Regions from separate parts of the Homo sapiens genome. Here region 1 is linked to region 2. The links are contacts of gene promoters, found by promoter capture Hi-C in human tissues and cell types (Jung and others, 2019). All regions are on one chromosome and are shown on one strand. The core of a region is centred on a gene start or on the middle of the fragment in contact, and the rest is flanking DNA. Distances in the headings are between cores, read along the strand shown. Region 1 overlaps MMP26 (matrix metallopeptidase 26). Region 2 holds the start of OR51F1 (olfactory receptor family 51 subfamily F member 1).

Region 1 (4,992 bases), core at 2,083-4,582, 55 kb before region 2:
ATAAAACATAAAATACAATGCAACAAGTTAAATACTGATACAAATATAAATTACATTTTGTTAAAAAATATAGGTTAGTATACAAAGTACTTACTTGTGTATATATTTCATGTGAATATGTGTAAATGCACATTAAAAAGTATAAATAGACATATCCCAAACATTACAACAGCTTATATTTGATAGCTGGATATTGTTTTGCTGACATATTCTTTACACTTTCTTGCATTTTATAAATGTTCAATAATGAGGGTTTCTTTTTCTTTTTGGATAATGAAGTAATTTCCACTTAATACCTTCCCACAAAACAAAACTTTTTTAGTTCTTCATCTTACATAAGATCTTCATTCCAGTGGGTCTTCACAGATCTGGCCTCATGCAACCCACTGAATACACTCATAAGATGACATCCACTTTCTACTTGCATCTATCACTTTTCTCAATGTGGTCCAGCATCTGTGCATCCAAACCACTTGACACTTCCGTTTAAAGTGCAGATTCCTCAATTCCGCTCCAGAGCTACTTAAACAGAAGCCCTTGAAATGGAACCCACAAATTTGCATTTTAACAAGACATTTACGGATTATCATGTATGAAAGAGTAACACTTTTCTGGGGTCTATCCACTTTGATGAATTATATATATTTCTGAAAAACACCAGGAATATATTGCCTCTAAGTCTGTGATTATTTTGCTCTCTCTGACTGACATACCCACCTCTTTCTTTTCCTGATTGTTCCATTTATTATTCTTTCAGGTGCTGTTAATAAATCTTTGTCTTACAGGGAGTCAGATTTCTCTTCCCCTACTGATCTGAAACTTTTTGAAAATGGGCATTGGACTTTGGGAATTGATGTATCTCGCACAGATACAAGTGCAGTGCTTTATTAATAATAGCTACTTAATGTATGCTTATTGAATTAAATTTATTTTTATATAACTTCACATATATACTGACATATTTTGAGCATCTTCATTTTGGCAAACACTGTGGAAGGGAGGTACTAGGGATAAAACAGTGAATGGGGAAGGCACAGCCTTCATTCTTAAGGTGTTTAAATCTGACTAAACATATCTAAATTCAAACAATATTTTAATCAGTTTTTACTTACAAACTGTGTACAAAACATTATACCACATGCTAAGAGTAGTCATAGATGGCGGTCTCTCTTTCTCCCAGTAGAAGCCTGAACCAATGGAAAAACAACCAGCCCAGGAAATACTTGACTTAATAAGAAAAATATAGCTCCTAGAAATTTACTGTTTAATAGAGAAAATATAATATGCACTCATTTCTAAGCAATGAAAGCATAAACATAAGTTATTTAAATTTCATATGGATAGGAAAAGTTTTCAAAAATAATTTTGAAGTTGGAGCAACCACATTTTTGGGTGTATCTTAAAATAGATGTACTAAGAATGTTATTGTGAAAGTAACAATTTTGATTCATGCTTTAATAATGTAATTTATGAAGTGTCAATTACAGATAATCTTGTATAGTATAGTTATACGTACCTTAATAAAATCCACTTTGAAGTATATTTATTTTCTCTCTTTATAAAGTAATACTTTATATTTTTTCTTATTTCTAAGTTTTTTTTTCTTTTAATCTTACAGCTTATATCTCTTATTTTTCCCTACTATCTATGTTACACTCTGAATTCAACAACATCCAATACTATGGTCTATACATTTTGCTTTTATTTATAGTCCATCTGAAACAATGGTTGTTTAAAACTGTGAGAACTAATGCTGAAAATAGTAGTCTGGTTAATCTGAAGTAGACTTTGAAAGAGTAGGCGATAGGGTGTTGAGGTTCTGTTTGAGAATGTCTTCTAAATTGACATTTCTATAAACGGATATATCAGAGTTTAGGGGGAAAATGTGATGTTTGTACCATTCAGGTTGATATTGAAACCAAGCAGAAAACTGCAATATATTAGGGATTCTCAAATTAGGTGCCTGACTTCCTCAGCTGCTTCACGTGGAGCTGTAAAAATGCATTTTTCTAGGGAAGAGGAAAGACTAAGTTCCATGCTGTGTTATTTGTATTATGTTATTTAGATTCAAATGACTTAGGATGCATAAAAGATCTTCATGCCTAACATAGATCCTGTCTCCCTATTTAGCTTCATCTCTCCCCCACACTGGCACCCAGGGTTCCAAGTGAGCTGAGTCTGTTATTAGTCACCTTCTGTTCTTCCTACACTCTGTGCTCCATTGTCTCCTGACAGACCTGGTTCTGAGTTTCCTTCAGGATAAACACAACTCTTCTGTACTGTCATCGTAAATATCCCTCATTGTAAACACTGAGTTTTATGTCTGTTTCCACAGGTGGTTCCCTCCAAGGAGCTCTGGAGGGAAAAGACTCTGTTTTATTCTCTGTATTACCAGTACAAAGTCCTAGAATATGAAAGATACTTCAAATGTTCCATGAAAGAATAAATGAAGATTTTTGGGGGGCATAGAGTGAAGCACAAGCAGAGGGGTTTCTAAAAATATATAAAATTCACCTAAATAATATAGGAGGAAGATAAGTTTATCAGTTGGGTGTGGGAGTGGTGTGAAGATGAGGGGCGATCTGGTGGGTTTTTTTGGGAGGGTGTGGTTACTCACAAATTTACTTTTAAGAAAATTTTAACAACACATAAGATCAAAGACCTGTAACAGCAGTCCCTTCATGGAAACTATAAAAGAACATGAAGTAGAAGGAGAAGAAAGCCATGAAGTAGAATGAGCCCTTGGGAAGCTTCATACTCTGGGGGCTGCAGAAATCACCACCAGGAGCTTATTAAGAGCTTTCAGGCATCCTGAGATATGGCTTCAGATATATGCTACTTATTTCTGGGTAGAATACATCCCCAGCTCCTCAGGCTCCTTTCTGGAAAACAGGCAGGAAAGAACACATCCTTATACTTTGTAAGTAAAACTGCTGCATTTACGAAAAACATTACACTTTACACGCCCTGGTTTCTTTTAAGAATGAGGGGGACTTTATTAGCTGCAGAAAGCTCTTGTGGGTGCCTAAGGAAAATTGTGGAAATCTATTTTCTGAAATCTGTATTTTCTAGGAACATTCTATTCTGAGGAGGTTTGATTGGTCTATGAGCCATTTGTTTTGCTGCTTAGAGCAGGTTGTTAATGTGTCCATGCAATTTTAAGTTTCCTGGTTAGTTGTGTCACATTTTATAACTGCCACTGAAGGTCCTAAAGTCAACAGCCACTACCACCGTCACACACACTGCCACTGCCATTCTTATCCTCATCCTCATCTTCATTTACCAATATCACGTGACTTCCACGTCCCACACACTGGTCAGCATATTATATGCTTTGCAATGTTATCTTGTTTAATCCTTACAAAGTAGTGCCATTGGTGAACTACCAGTTTCACCTTAGTGGAATCTGATGTAAAGTGCTTATTTGGAGAACTCCGGCTAGCTCTAGGTGGCAGAGACCAAATTTGAACCTAGGTTTGTATGACGGTATAACAATATCACTTACTCTGTAATCAGAGAAGAGAGATAAGTCAAGGTAGCCCAGGAAATAACTTGAAACACATTCTTACAATGGGCCTGGAGTGTTATCTTGGTATAATAGGAAGATAATTACTGTCAACAAATGGGAGGGCACATAAAAGTTAACCCTCCAATACTAGGACAGAGTCTTCCATCAGTAAAACCCCAAATCTCTCTCTCTCTCTCTCTCTCACACACACACACACACACACACACACACACACACACATTACTCAGTTTGTGAGAACACTGGAGAGCTCTGTGCGATTCTTCCAGAAGCCACATATATAATTTTAGGCAACACAGCATGTTTTAAATAGACAAAATTGAATGTGTTGAGGTCCTGAGATGTGTTCAGAATCTTGGTCAGTTAACAACTCTTGGATTGAATTCACATCAACATGTATATATTGTATGCCCATACTTCTCAAAATATATTTCAAGGTATTGGGAATATAACGATGAAAAAACAATGAACTACCTTCCAGTAACTTAATTTTGTTAGAGAGGTGTATTTGATCGTACAATGGAATAAACACTATTTTAGATGCATAAATATAAAAGAATATCGTTTCATCAAGCTGTTATCAAATAAAGTCTTTTTTTCCTGTAAAAAAAAAAAAAAGAATATAACTCCAGAGGAAGAAGTAAGTTCTTCTGACTTGACTTAGAGTAGGTGATGCCACCAAATGCTTCCTGAAATAAATTCATGTTTAATTTATACGTAGTTCGGTGGATCAAATAGTGGATCTAAAATTTTTTGTCTTATTCAAAAAAGAGAGAACTACATGAATTAAGCAAGCACATTAGTGTGAAAGAACTTGCTATATTTGGTAGTTTGGTGAAGTAGGGAAAAGCCCAGGTGGAGTATATAAAAAGATTTCTGAGGGTAGGGAGGAAGGTCACTAATAAAACTGGAAGATAAATATGGTCAATCAAGAGACATTTCAGAAGTTGAACCTATAAAGATTTGGAGACTGGATAGCCATGACAGATGGGGTTGGTAGAATTCTAAAAGGGCTCTAAAGATTTCTGCCCATCCTGGTGTACTTGTCCTGAGCAATACCCATGCCTTGGGTGTGTGAGTGGGGCCTGTGAATGTGATGGGATATCACTCCCATGATTACGTTACATTATATGGCAAAAGGATTTAACAGATGTAACTAAGGTCCCTGATTACTTGACTTTGAGTTAATCAAAAGGAAGACTATCCTGCTAGGGCTTACCTAATCACGGAAGTCTTTAAAAGAGAGAAGAATCTCGAAGGAGGTTCTACTGCTGGATTTGAAGACCTAAGATGTCATATTGTGAGAAGAACACATGACTGGGACTGAGGGTAGCCTCTAGAAGCTAAAAGCCCAGCAAGAAATTGGAGACCTCAACCATATACCACAAGGAACTAAATTCCTACGGCAATCTGAGTGAGGATTGTAATTAAGAACAATCTCCAATTGTTCCTCTCCAATTAAGAAC
Region 2 (5,627 bases), core at 1,885-4,384:
TTTTTTGCAGTGACTCTGACAATTTAAAAATTTTCTGCTGGTGGCTGTGCTATCGGTTCGGAATATTGCGATGAGTGCTTATTGTGATAATGTTAGTATATATTACATTATTTTACCACATCTATCTTTCTGATGTTCCAGCAGCTAGCAGGCATGTAGAATTACTCAAGAAAAAGACTCTCACATATAAAAGTCAGAAAGTGTAGCCAAATTTGTAAACTAAATCGATAAACAAATTCATTTACATAATGGCATTGTTTTATCAAAAGGTGTTTTTAAAGCTACTAACACAAATTTTATAATCTATGTTCACCTGGGGAAAGCTGAAGAAGAGAGAAAATAGAAGAAAAAAGGGTTTGTGTTTCATAATTTTCATGCCTATGTACAGACAGACCTTAAAACTCAGAAGATAATTCTTCCATGAATAGTAAAATTGTCATATAATATTTCTTCCATTTTTCCACAGAGTTTCTTACAAAATCGTCCTATCCAGCATGCACTTTTGGATACTCTTTCAACTCAGAAGTCAACATAAAGGGTAAAATTTTACTTTTATATTATGAATTATCACCCCAATAAGTCCATTATTTCATGACTTTTTGTTCATGTTGATGTTTTACACACACAAGATTTTAACCTTCGTGAGTGCACAGTAATATTTTTTATTGATCTTTTATTTTTTGTTGTTTCCCACGAGGTCAAACATAAAATATACCTACAGTCACTGTGTGCTGATAAACTGAATATTTAAAAACAGAAAAAGTTCTCAATGCTATTAAATTAAATTGAACAATGCTATTATATAAATATTTAAAAGAATTTTTACCAGTTCACATGGTATAAAAATTATCATTATCAGTGATTTCAAGCTACTAATATGACATCATATAATGCATAGTTAGATATGCAAAAATAGGCTCTTGCAAGCTGGTGTGTGCTCTCTCCAGCACACTGCTGCCCTCAGTATTTGTGGGGTACCTGGTACATTTCTTCCACCTATCACTATTTTTCCAATGGCAATAAAATTGATGTGACTGCCTTTAGGTTTCCATCTCCATTTCCCTCTGATTTTATTCTGCCATTATATGCAATTGACATTTTTAAGCTTCTGTCTGTCTCTTAAATCCAAAGAGTTACCATAAGTTCGTTTTCAGAAACCAAACATTTTGTGTCTGTCTCTGTAAAACTGTGTATAGGCAAGAACTATGAATTCTTTACCTTGGTTCTTTAGCTGGTTAAGGAGTCACATAGGTCTTTAATGGCATTTGTGAAAACTGTGAAAACTATGGAAAATAATGTGAGTATGTTTATCTATGGGGAAAGGTCCATAAATTTCATTAGCTTTCTAAGGGACCACAATGCAGAAAAAGGTTCAGAACATCTGCCCCAAACTTCCTTGTAATTTACTTTACATTCTTTTCTAGTTCTCTCAAGTTCCCATTCCCTGTGATAAATTAGCAAGTGTGCCTCACCCCTAAAGCTTTTCTTTGGACTGTCCAACACTGGATAGTGACTCACATGCCATGACATATCTATTCCTACCTTTTGTATTATGAATTATCCATGAAGAAAACAGCTAGAGTATATTCTAAGAAGGTTACTACAACTTTTTAAGACAAAGGATGGAACCATGGAGATCCAGGTCTTACTTTTGATCTTAAAACATTTCTGCTACATGACTTTGGCAGAGTATGTAATACAGTGATGAAGAGCATAGCATTTGAGATACAGAACACCTGGGTTCAAATCTCAACTGTGCCTCATGTTATTCACATGGCCTTTGGGGGCCTAAATGTCTATAAATCTGTTCCATCATCTGTAATATATCGCTAATAGTAATATATATTTCATTTCGCTGTTTTGGAAGAATAAATGGAATATGTCTTAAAAGCAGTTAGTAGAACACCTAGCCTGAAACAAAGAGTCAATACATGTTAATTGCCAGGAGTATTATTTATCATTTCATTATTGTTATTTTCCTAATTCCACTACAAATGTCTTGGGTGATATATCATACTTATATTTTATGACCAAATATACAACATATTTACTATTTGTTTGGTGAATGAAAAATATTTTAAAAACCCACATGCAATAGGCAGTAAGAGAGCAAGTTCGCTTTTCTACAGTGCAAGTCATTCATGCCAGGTTTGTATCAAATAAAACTATGTCTGTTCATTTTGTAAGCAGCAGACTGAGCATAGCCTTGCGGATTTGTTTTGTTTTTACACTGTCGATGATGGGGTTGAGCACAGGGGGTAAAAGCAGGTATACATTAGCCATCACTGAATGGACTACTCTGGGGGCTGACCGACCATAGCGATACACCAAGGACAGGCTCAGCATGTGGATGTAGAAGAAAGCAACTGCTCCCACATGGGAGACACAGGTGCTGAAGACCTTGTGCCATTCTTCAGGGGAGGCAATTCTGAGGACAGAGTGAATAATTAAGATATATGACAGGACAATGCATGGTGTATCTATTCCAGTGGTCAGGATGAGATCAATTAATCCACAGATGCTATTTGCCCGAATGTCTGAACATGCTAATTGAATCACATCTGGATGGTAACAATAGGAGTGAGAAAGGGCATTCATTCTACAGAAATAGAGAGGCTTAAGGAGCAAAAGTAGTGGCAATATTAGTACTATAGCACGTGTAATCATCAGAAGACCCATTTGAATGATTCTGGAATTAGTGAGAATGGTAGTGTACCTCAGAGGGTCACAGATGGCCACATAACGGTCAAAGGCTGTAGCCACCAGCACTCCAGATTCCATAAAAGTGAATCCATGAAGAAAAAACATCTGGACAATGCAGCTATATAGACTGATTTCACGTGCCTCAAACCAGAGGATACCTAATGTTGTTGACAATGAAGAAACAGTCAAGCCCAGATCAGTGGCTGATAGCCTGAAGAGGAAATAATACATGGGTTCATGGAGACTCTGCTGGGTAATGATGACAAACAGGATCACGCTGTTCCCAGAGAGGGCAATGGCATAAAAACAACAGAAAGGAATGGAGATCCAGACATGGGCAGACTCTAGGCCAGGAATGCCGGTCAACAAGAAGGTTGGAAATTTAGATGTTGAGTTGCTTAGGATTTCCATGGTGTCCTGGTTTTGCAGCATTTGTCCTCACAATGCTTCCATCCTATAGAAGTGATACATTAAGTGTTATGTAAAATATTTAGATACATTTTCTTTTAGTTAGTAGAGTTATCCAAGGTCATAGATAAGATCTGCATCATTGAGAAACCTTTAAATTAAATTATAATGTTCATCTACCACTCATAATCAGAAATAGTTCACAAAAATATGTTTTTGTACCATAAAATTCAAGGGAAATATGTCCATATGATTTTATACATTTTCATGATAGTGTCCATTTACAGAATATATTAAGATGCATCATATTGTAAGATTATTTGAATAAAGACTTAGCTGAGAAAAAATAAGTATCCTCAATTTTGAATATTTTGTGAGTACAATGAATAATAGCCACTTAAAAATATCCATGGTTCTTCAGTGACCATAAGGGTATGAGTCTGCAGACACAGATCTCCAGATATTTGCCAGGAATATAAAGTTATCAATGTATATTTATCATTTTCATCCAACACTATAGGTAAACAACTTCAGAGACTAGAATTATAAGAGAAAAACAATGAGGACAGAACTCTCCAGAAGACTGGAATGCACTATATACACTAAAGCAAGATGAGACTGGTTTTATGGGGACTATGAAAACCAAAAGAGGCTGGGCAGGTGGCTCATGCCTGTAATCCCAGCACTTTGGAGGCAGAGGTGGGCGGATCACGAGGTCAAGAGATCAAGATCATCCTGGCCAACATGGTGAAACCCCGTCTCTACTAAAAATACAAAAATTAGCTGGGCATGGTGGCGTGTATCTGTAGTCCCAGCTACTTGGGAGGCTGAGGCAGGAGAATCGCTTGAACCCAGGAGGCAGAGGTTGCAGTGAGCCAAGATTGCACCACCGCACTCCAGCCTGGTGACAGTGAGAGACTCCGTCTAAAAAAGAAGAAAAAAAAAAAACATGGTGTGAAGACCGGATGTTACATGAGCAGCTGTGTCGAATTGCTTGCGCTGTGAAGCCTAGTAAGGATTAAAAAATTCAAATGCAGCTGAGAGCCATTAGCGATCCCAGAAAAAACAGTGGAAAATTGAGAACCTGCTACAGTGTGGTAATGATGAAAGTATTAGCAGTGGAGGTACGGTTTATTTTAAGAAACTTGGCAGTGAAGGCAAGGGGAGAAGTAGGCCATGTCTAAAGAAGGGGTATCAGGTAGATGGAGAATTTTTGCAAGATGGGACAGAATTCGAGAAATTGATATGTTTATAAACGGAGGTTAAAAATGTAGCAGATAATGAGAAATTTAAAATATAGAATGTGAAGGATTTATTGATCTATAAAAGTCCTTAAGAAAGTAGTGGGTGATTAAGTGTAGAGCATGAGTAACCTTCAAAAAAATGAGGACCATCATTTGCACTGACACTAGTAAGTGTCAAATATGTAAGTTTGTGGAGAGTTATATAAGGAAATTGTTACCTTTTTCTCTGTGAAGTATTTGGGGGTAATTTACTGCTGTTCAAAAGTGTAAAGTGATGGCTGCTGGCTTCCGGATACAGTAGACGTTTTCAGGAGACAGCGAATGAGAAGGGCAATTGGCTCAGTAAACAGAAATGCTATATCGCCTCTTTCAAGTAAAATTCCAAGAATAATTTTGTCAATTAATATATTTATATTGTTCAAATCAATTCTGGGGAGAATTAAATTAAATAATAGCAGTATTCATGAGTATAATGTTAGTATTTTTCAATCAAGTCTTTAAAAAATTAGATGTGTCAAATTCATGAGAGTAAATATTCTGTAGCAAGGATACAAGTTACTGTTCCCTTTATGCTAGTATTCTGTGGTTTATTTTAAATCTCCAGTTGTCTGATTTTCAATTCAATCTGAGAAACATTATGAAAATATTTAAGTATGAATTATTAGAGGTTGTATATCTACATGTTATGTGGATCGATGAGGACAGGGCAAACCCTCATGATATCTGACTTTTCTATAAACCCATATGACTATTTGTGAATAGGTAACAAAGTAAAAGTCAACACGATAAATATATCTATCTCCCTTCTTACCAGCTTTACGTGGAAAGAGGAACCTTCTCTGTCTTTGCTAGATGAGGAAGGATAGACTACAGTTCTGGAGCCATGGACTTTATAGTAAGGTAGAATTGAGCTGTGAGATTATTTGTATGATTTATGTCTCTCTGCAGCCAAAGACAGAGCAAAAAAGAAACCACCCTCTCTCCCTATCTATAAAAATTAGAGGGCAGGAGTGTGTAATCCCAGAGGGTTTTAGTTACTAATCCAAGTAACCTGTGGTCCACAGGGACATTAAATGCAGAGGAAAATAAACCAAATTATGCATATAAATAGAAAATTTACACACTGTTCATAGCATTGGGGAATAGAGAGATGTACATCATTGTCTCTGGATTATAAGTGTACTGGCAAGATAGGAAAAGAAACCACTGTTCACTGGGATCATTATGGTCACAATAAAGAGGGAAAACTTTACACCCAGTCTCTAGGCTCCT

Evidence for each region. Contacts are between HindIII fragments. The study calls those that stand out against the background at their distance.
Region 1: a fragment that was not itself captured here is called in contact with the fragment with the promoter of OR51F1 in region 2 in 1 of the 25 tissues and cell types used here (aorta).

Annotation. Positions count from the first base shown.
Region 1 is chr11:4,711,211-4,716,202 of GRCh38, forward strand. The region is part of intron 1 of MMP26 (matrix metallopeptidase 26); the gene reads left to right. Among named protein-coding and RNA genes, the nearest start is that of MMP26, 8.9 kb to the left of the region's middle. The HindIII fragment of the contact is 6,949 bases long and covers 1-4,992 here.
Region 2 is chr11:4,766,804-4,772,430 of GRCh38, forward strand. It overlaps OR51F1 (olfactory receptor family 51 subfamily F member 1), which reads right to left and starts at 3,135. Exons shown (of 1, transcript NM_001004752.2): 1 at 2,176-3,135. The coding sequence starts at 3,135. The coding sequence ends at 2,176. MMP26 (matrix metallopeptidase 26) reads left to right here. Exons shown (of 8, transcript NM_021801.5): 2 at 467-538. The HindIII fragment of the contact is 7,923 bases long and covers 1,293-5,627 here.